Linked DNA regions of Homo sapiens: region 1 is linked to region 2. The links are contacts of gene promoters, found by promoter capture Hi-C in blood cells and fetal thymus (Javierre and others, 2016). All regions are on one chromosome and are shown on one strand. The core of a region is centred on a gene start or on the middle of the fragment in contact, and the rest is flanking DNA. Distances in the headings are between cores, read along the strand shown. Region 1 holds the start of PRPF8 (pre-mRNA processing factor 8). Region 2 holds the start of SMG6 (SMG6 nonsense mediated mRNA decay factor).

The links. The method cuts DNA at HindIII sites, captures the fragments that hold promoters and counts their contacts. A CHiCAGO score of 5 or more calls a contact.
Region 1: the fragment with the promoter of PRPF8 here is called in contact with the fragment with the promoter of SMG6 in region 2 in 8 of 17 cell types (naive CD8 T cells, fetal thymus, total CD4 T cells and 5 more); the score reaches 10.9 in naive CD8 T cells.

The regions. Positions count from the first base shown.
Region 1 is chr17:1,682,565-1,686,370 of GRCh38, forward strand. It overlaps PRPF8 (pre-mRNA processing factor 8), which reads right to left and starts at 2,303. Exons shown (of 43, transcript NM_006445.4): 1 at 2,216-2,303; 2 at 1,908-2,018; 3 at 969-1,137. The coding sequence starts at 2,007. The HindIII fragment of the contact is 11,873 bases long and covers 1-3,806 here.
Region 2 is chr17:2,301,909-2,305,629 of GRCh38, forward strand. It overlaps SMG6 (SMG6 nonsense mediated mRNA decay factor), which reads right to left and starts at 1,877. Exons shown (of 19, transcript NM_017575.5): 1 at 1,725-1,877. The coding sequence starts at 1,812. It overlaps SRR (serine racemase), which reads left to right and starts at 2,042. Exons shown (of 8, transcript NM_021947.3): 1 at 2,042-2,109. RefSeq lists enhancers at 135-949, 1,279-2,005 and silencers at 1,507-1,716, 1,907-2,126. The HindIII fragment of the contact is 10,069 bases long and covers 1-3,721 here.

The DNA.
Region 1 (3,806 bases), core at 1,053-3,552, 620 kb before region 2:
TCACATCCTATTCCCTCCGCATCTTCCCATAAATCATAATAAAGTATTCACCATACTTCACTATCACCAGTTGTCTCATGTCTGTCAGGCCACTAGACCGCACACTGCAGAAAGGCGGAGATTGTTACCCTCTGCTCGCTACTATATCCCCAGCAGCCAGCACAGTTCTCTAAGTATTTTTTGAAATAAACAAAACTTCCAGTTCATTACATGGCAAACATTTTTGTGTCCAAATAGAACAGGAATCTGCTAAGACATCTGTACCTGTACTAGCCCAGTTTAGAGCCACAGAAAAAACAGGAGTAGGGAAACCTCTGAAATTAAATACCCCAAACACAGAATTCAGGTCCCTGAGGAGCGACAGGCTGCCACTATGCACAGTATCCCACTCTGGACTTCAACCAGCTCAACCATAGGGACATCTTATTTTTCATTTTTTTTTTTTTTTTGAGACGGAGTCTCGTACTTTCGCCCAGGCCAGAGTGCAGTGGTGTGATCTCGGCTCACTACAAGTTCCGCCTCCCAGGTTCACGCCATTCTCCTGCCTCAGCCTCCCAAGTAGCTGGGACTACAGACACCTGCCACCACGCCCAGCTAATTTTGTGTATTTTTAGTAGAGACGGGGTTTCACCGTGTTAGCCAGGATGGTCTCGATCTCCTGACCTCATGATCCACCCGCCTCGGCCTCCCAAAGTGCTGGGATTACAGGCATGAGCCACCGCGCCTGGCCAGGGACATCTTATAATATCATCAACAGGACAAATTAAAGCACCAGTCCCAGATCGGGAAGAGAGGGGAAACAGACTGCAAAAGTGGAAGATGTAGAAATTATCAGAGACTCCTACTGGTTTTCTCCTTTCTCTTATATCCACCAAGATGAGCTGTCAAAGCATCAATCCAAGACTGTGGGACAGGGAGAAGGGAAAAGGGCCAAATTCCAAATGAAATTATTTCAGGATGTTCCTTACCCCAAGTAAACCCTTTTGTCATGGCGGAACTTCCTGTTGGTCATGTCTCCATGGTCTCGAATGATCTTCCTGACATGTTCTGGGGGCATGTCTTCCTTCTGGGCATCCACAAACCCAAACTTCCGCTTTTCTGCATAGCGCTTGGCCTGCAATTGCTGCCATTTTCGAGCTGGAAAGGCACCTCAGTTTAAAGGCCTGCACACCCTCCCCCTAATCCTCTTCACCTCTTGCCCTAGGGTAAGCTCCTGTCAGTGAGTGTGAGGGAGAAGCAGGCACCAGCAGGAAGAAGCACCCCTTGCCAATTCCCTTACCATTTTACTCTGTTTTTCCTTTCATCACATTGATCACTATCTGACTTTTTTTTTTTTTTTTGAGAGGTTGTTTCACTCTGTCTCCCAGGCTGGAGTGCAATGGTGCGATGTCGGCTCACTGCAACCTCCGCCTCCTGGGTTCAAGCCATTCTCCTGCCTCAGCCTCCCCAGTAGCTGGGATTATAGACACGCGCCACCACACACGACTCATTTTTGTATTTTTCGTAGAGACGAGGTTTCACTGTGTTGGCCAGGCTGGTCTCGAACTCCTGACCTCAGGTGATCCGCCCGCCTGGGCCTCCCAAAGTGCTGGGATTACAACCGTGAGCCACCGCGCCCGGCCTGACATTTTTATTACAGAGCTTCAAGGTTTTGTTATTCTCTGTCTCTCCCGCTGTAATTTAAACCCCGTAAGGACAGGAATTTTGTCTCCGTCACTACTGTACCCCCGCTGGATCAGCGCTTGCAAATAATACGCGCTTAAAATGACTTGATGAAAAATTAACTGGAAATAACAAGGGAGCTGACACCTCAGGAGCTGCCCAAACGGGGAGGGTCCCCACCCGCCTGCGCGCGCGCACACCCGCCCCGCCTCCGGCCCGCGCGCCGCTCCACACTCTCGCCTCACCTTTCTCCTGCAGCTTCTCCTCCGACATGTAGTCCGGTAGCGGGGCTAGAGGGCCAGGCACCGGGTTACCCGGCCCTCGATAAGGAAACACTCCGGCCATATCCGGAGAATCTGGGGAGCGGCGGGATAGAAAAATTCACTAACCACAGGCCCGGGCCCACAAGAAGCGCAGCAGAAAGGCGTCCGGGGACCCCGGCCTGCAGTCCCGCCACACAGTGCATCCAGCCCCGCCCGGCCTAACCCCTTCGGTCACTCGGCCCGACCCGACCACGCCTCCCGCAGCCCGGCCTTAAACGCCTGCCACGCACCCCACAGGCCCTCACACAAGAGGCCGCTTTCCCCGCAGCGCAATGGCGGCCAGACTGCGTCCGCTCCGCGTTCCCAGCGCCGGGAAGTGCGCAACCCGAGTTCAGCAGTTGATCCAGTCGGCGCCGAGGTGCTCAGATGGATTAGTGAGACGACCAATTAGAGTTGCACACTGCGCCGAGGAGGCGGGCCCATAGGCGGAAAGGCTTTGAACGCAAGGGGGTGTGGTCGGGGTGAAGCCCCGCCTCCTCCATTTCCGAGGCTGTTTCTGGGGCCTCTGACAGACCTCAGCGTGTGATGGGCTCCCGGCGTCGCACTGTGAGAGAGCGAAGTCTAAAGGGTTTGAATAAATTTGCCAAGATTGCGCATTGTACGATGTCTGTTGTCATCAATGTGTACATGCAATGCAGTACTAGCTCCTGGACAGTCATTTGTTCATGCATTCATTCATTTAACCATCACTGTCTACCGAGGACGAGGGATAAAGCAGGAAAAAAGACAACCAGTAGAGTTCACAGGGGAGCAGAAAGGCAGGCAAGAATTAAGACCTTGGCCGGGCGCGGTGGCTCACGCCTGGAATCGCAGCACTTTGGGAGGCCGAGGCAGGCGGATCACTTAAAGCCAGAAGTTCGAGGCCAGCCTGGCCAACATGGTGAAACCCCGTCTCTACTAAAAATACAAACATTAGCCGGGCGTGGTGGCGGGCGCCTGTAGTCCCAGCTACTCGGGAGGCTGAGGCAGGAGAATCGCTTGACCCGGGAGGGGGAGGTTGCAGTGAGCCAAGATCGCGCCACTGCACTCCAGCCTGGGTGACAGAGCGAGACTCTGTCTCGGGGGAAAAAAAAAAGTCTGAAATTCTGTGGAGGGTGCAGAGGAATTGTAACCCATACAGCCCCTGAATCTAGTTGAGAATTTACAAATCAAAGTGAAATAATTAGAAAAAAATTCAAAGGATGTCAATGTGCTTTCAGAACGGTAAAAATTTAAAAAATATTCCTTTTGTTTTTTTGAGACAGGGTCTCACTCTGTTGCCCAGACTGGAGTGCAATGGCGCGATCTCAATTCATCACAACCTCCACCTCCCAGGATCAAGCAATTCTCCTGCCTCAGTCTCCAGAGTAGCTGGATTACAGGCACGCGCCACTACTGCCGGCTAAGTTTTGGATTTTTAGTAGAGACAGGGTTTCACTATGTTGGCCAGGCTGGTCTCAAACTCCTGACCTTACGAAATCCTCCTGCCTCGGCCCTCCCAAAGTGCTGGGATTACAGGCGTGAGCCCCCATGCCCGGCCTGAAATCTATTTTTTAATGCTGGGTGTTCTAAAGGTCCCTACAGTCAAAAAAGACAGAGGAGAATTGTTAAAGATTTGATGGAGATGGATGGATGTGAGGATTTCATAAAGGTAAATGGAGAGGAAGGAAAAAGGTAATCCCAAGTGGTAGAACTACTAGAAAGAGTTAAGAAAGAAGCCGGGCACCGTGACTCATACCTGTAATCCTAGCACGTTGGGAGGCAGCGGCGAGAGGATTGGTTAAACTCATGAGTTTAAGACTAGCCTGGGCAACATACTGAGACCCTCATCTCTACAAATAA
Region 2 (3,721 bases), core at 627-3,126:
GACAGAATTCGGGAGAATATTATCAAGTACACAAATGGAATGCTATATAAAATCCTAGCATAGGCCAGGTGCAGTAGCTCACGCCTATAATCCCAGCACTTTGGGAGGCTGAGGCGGGAGGACTGCTTGAGGCCAGGAGTTCGAGATCAGCCTGGGCAACATGGCAACACCCTGTCTCTATAACGTATACAAAAAATAGCCAGGTGTGGTGGTGCAGGTCTGTAATTCCAGCTACTCGGAAGGCTGAGGTGGGAGGATCACTTGAGCACAGGAGGGGGAGGCTACAGTGAGCTGAGATCCCTCCACTGCACTCCAGCCTGGAAGACAGAGTGAGACCCTGCCTCAAAAAAATTGGCCGGGCACGGTGGCTCACGCCTGTAATCCCAGCACTTTGGGAGGCCAAGGCGGGCGGATCACGAGGACAGGAGTCCAGACCATCCTGGCCAACACGGAGAAACCCCGTCACTACAAAAATACAAAAAATTAGCCAGGCGTGGTGGCACACGCCTACAGTCCAAGCTACTGGGGAGGCTGAGGTAGGAGAATGGCGTGAACCCGGGAGGCGGAGGTTGCAGTGAGCAGAGATCGCGCCACTGCACTCCAGCCTGGGCGACAGAGCTAGACTCCGTCTCAAAAAATAATAATAACAACAATAAAAAAGTTTTTAATCCTAGTATTGCTCTCTAAATATAAATGGAAACAAGCCCAAAACAGGAATCATATGCTCCAGCAAGTACATTTACTGTTTGTAGGTGTAAGGAAAAGGGGAAGAAAAGAGACTGAGGTTTTGGATAGTGCTTCACTATTTTCATAAGTTTAAAAGGTAGGTTCATGAAGTATCCACAAAGATAAAGCAGTTTAACCCAAGAATAGCTCACCCTCGGCAGTCTGTAACTTGGTGGGGGGCGGGGGGATGGGGAAAGCTATTCCTACTACTTTCTAGAGCAGCGGGAGAAAATAGCCTTAATAATCCAATTATGTTAATCAACAAAAACCAATTTCACAGACTGGCCGCAAACCTAGAGAAGGCACCTATCACAGCTACCATTCTACACAACTCTATTGCCTAACGCAGGAGAGGTGAGACACTTAGAATCTTTCTTACTTTCCTGACGTGGCTGGAGACTTGAAATTAACTTGCAAATTGAGCATTCTCTCTAATAAAAACTGCTCCCACACATGCCAGGGCCAAACCCGAGTAGTCTGAGGTCCCGGATCCCTCCAGTGGCGCAGCTTTCGGAAGCCTGTCTTGGGGGGGAAAAGTTCAGCAACGAAGTCGCAGGCTCTTAAACCTTTCTCCCCAATTCCTTCTCTCCGACGTTAAAGCGGTGGCCGGGGCAGGCCCGCGGAGGGCGGCCTGGAGAGCGATACGCCCGGGGCCTCCACCAGACCCCACTCCTTTCCGCGTCTCCCGATGCCTGGGAATCCGGGGCGGGTCTGAGAGGGCTGGGGCAAAAGGAACAGTCACCTTCGCGGCGAGAAAGAGGGTGGAGGCAGGAATTCGGGCCAGGCTCTCCCGGAGCTGGCCAGGACTGGCCGAGCCCGACCCCGCACTAACCCGCGAGAGAGGTAGGGCAGCGAGGGTCCGCCGCGGCCCCAGCGCCTACTGCTGGGGGAAGGGGCGGGGGCTCCGGAGCCGAGGGCCGAGCGGGGAGGAGGCAGAGGAGGAGGAGAGGGAGGCGGGGCGGGCAGGCCCGGCCCAGGAGCTGGGCGGCGCGACTCACCTCTGCTCCCGGCCTGCGGGGCCAGAGTAGCCAGGATCCCGCGCAGCTCCGACGCGGAGATCCGCACACGCTCCAGCCCTTCCGCCATCTTCGCGGCTGCTGCTACAGCCGTAGCGGCTCCGCCACCGCCGCGCGCAGCCAGGAAACCACCACAGACGGGCGGCGCGCGCGCTCGCCCACCTCCCGGCCTTTCCCCGCCCCCTGCCGCCCTCCCTTTCCGAACGACGGTGGCCGCGCTGGGAGGAAAAGCGCCCGCCGCCGGTTCCAGAGGGGCGGGACCGGAGCGAGAGCCTGGGTGGGGCGGGCGGGCGCTGCGCGTGCGCAGAGGTGCGGCCGGGGAGGCGCGCGGAGGCTGGAGCTGGAGGCGCGGCGCCGGTGAGCTGAGGTGAGGCGAGGCCGGGCCGTGCCAGGCCAGGCGGGCGTTTGCGGCGGTGGCTGCCGTTGCTGTTGTCGTGGACACCAAGGACACTGCTAGTCTGGGACTCGGGTTGACAGAGACACCCCTCAGCCTGGGCTCCTCTGGACACCTTAGGCCAGGCTCTCCCGCCACAGGCCCGGCCTAGCGCCGCGGGCCATTACTTGGGACCTTGAAGATCTGCTAAGAGTAGTTGTTACTATTCCCTTTTTTTTTTAGTTGGAGTCTCGCTCTGTTGGAGACTCCCGGGCTGGAGTGCAGTGGCGCGGTCTCGGCTCACTGCAACCTCTGCCTCCTGGATTCAAGCGATTCTCCTGCCTCAGCCTCCCTAGTAGCTGGGATTACAGGTGCACGCCACCAAGCCCGGCTAATTTTTGTATTTTTTGTAGAGACGGGGTTTCACTAGGCTGGTCTCGAACTCCTGACCTCAGGTGATCCACCCGCGTCGGCCTCCCAAAGTGCTGGGATTACAGGCGTGAGCCACCGCGCCCGGCCGCCCCCTGACTTTTAAAAACTAGATACGATATAGTTGGAATCGTGTGGAAGGAAGTACATCAGGAGGCATATAAGTCCATTTGGGACCTGTAATCCCGGCGACTCGGAACGCTGAGACGGGCGGATCGCTTGAACCCGGGAGGCGGAGACTGCAGTGAGCCGAGATCGCGCCACTGCACTCCAGCCCGGGAGTCTCCAACAGAGCGAGACTCCGCCTCAAAAAAAAAAAAAAGTCAATTTGGGAATTTCTGTGTCACTATGGATTCTTGAAAAAAATTACTGCTGTGGATCTCAGGTTGACTTTTTAATTTCCCATCTTTAAAATTGAACTATACCAGAAGGCTGGTACTTGAATCTTTTTTTGGAGAACTGTACAGAGGTGAAGCTCCCTTCCCCAAGGCCTCCTGCCTCCACCTGTTGCCCCTCCACAGCCCCATAGGCTTTTACCCCACACCCATCACAGAATAGTTACCAATTATTCCTTAGTCTGAGCCGAAGGGATTGCCACAACCTCTGACAGAACTCCTTCAGTTCCTTTTACGTGACACTTTGTCACCGGAAGGTTAAGCATAAGAAGAAAGTCAGTAGATGATGGGTGAAAAGATCCAACAGTTCAGAAGAGGAACCATTTGAGTGGTCAGAGCAGAAGACAGCCTTTGCCACCAGATTTGAGAGAAATAGGAAGAAGCGTTAAAAAATAATCTGTTTCATATTGAAATTTGAGAGGCCATTGCATGATTTCTTTTTTCAGCTGGAAAAATAATGGAAAACAAGAAAACTTTCTTAGGACAAATGGCACCACCCATTTAATGCAACAGTGTCAGTGAACTGCAGATTAGATATGCCAAAAGTTAAACCAGTTCAAGAAAATTTACCAGAACTCAGAAGGAAAAGGTAATAGATAAAAACTGAGAGACAAAGATAGGAGACATGGAGAAGGGGTACAAAAAATTAATAATTAAATACGAGTTCCAGAAGGGGATAATACAGCTGACTGCAGAAGAGCAATAATCAAATAGTAGAAGAAAATTTACTACGTTGGTGGAAATTTTTGAATTATCAGATTTAAAGAATTCATGAAATACCA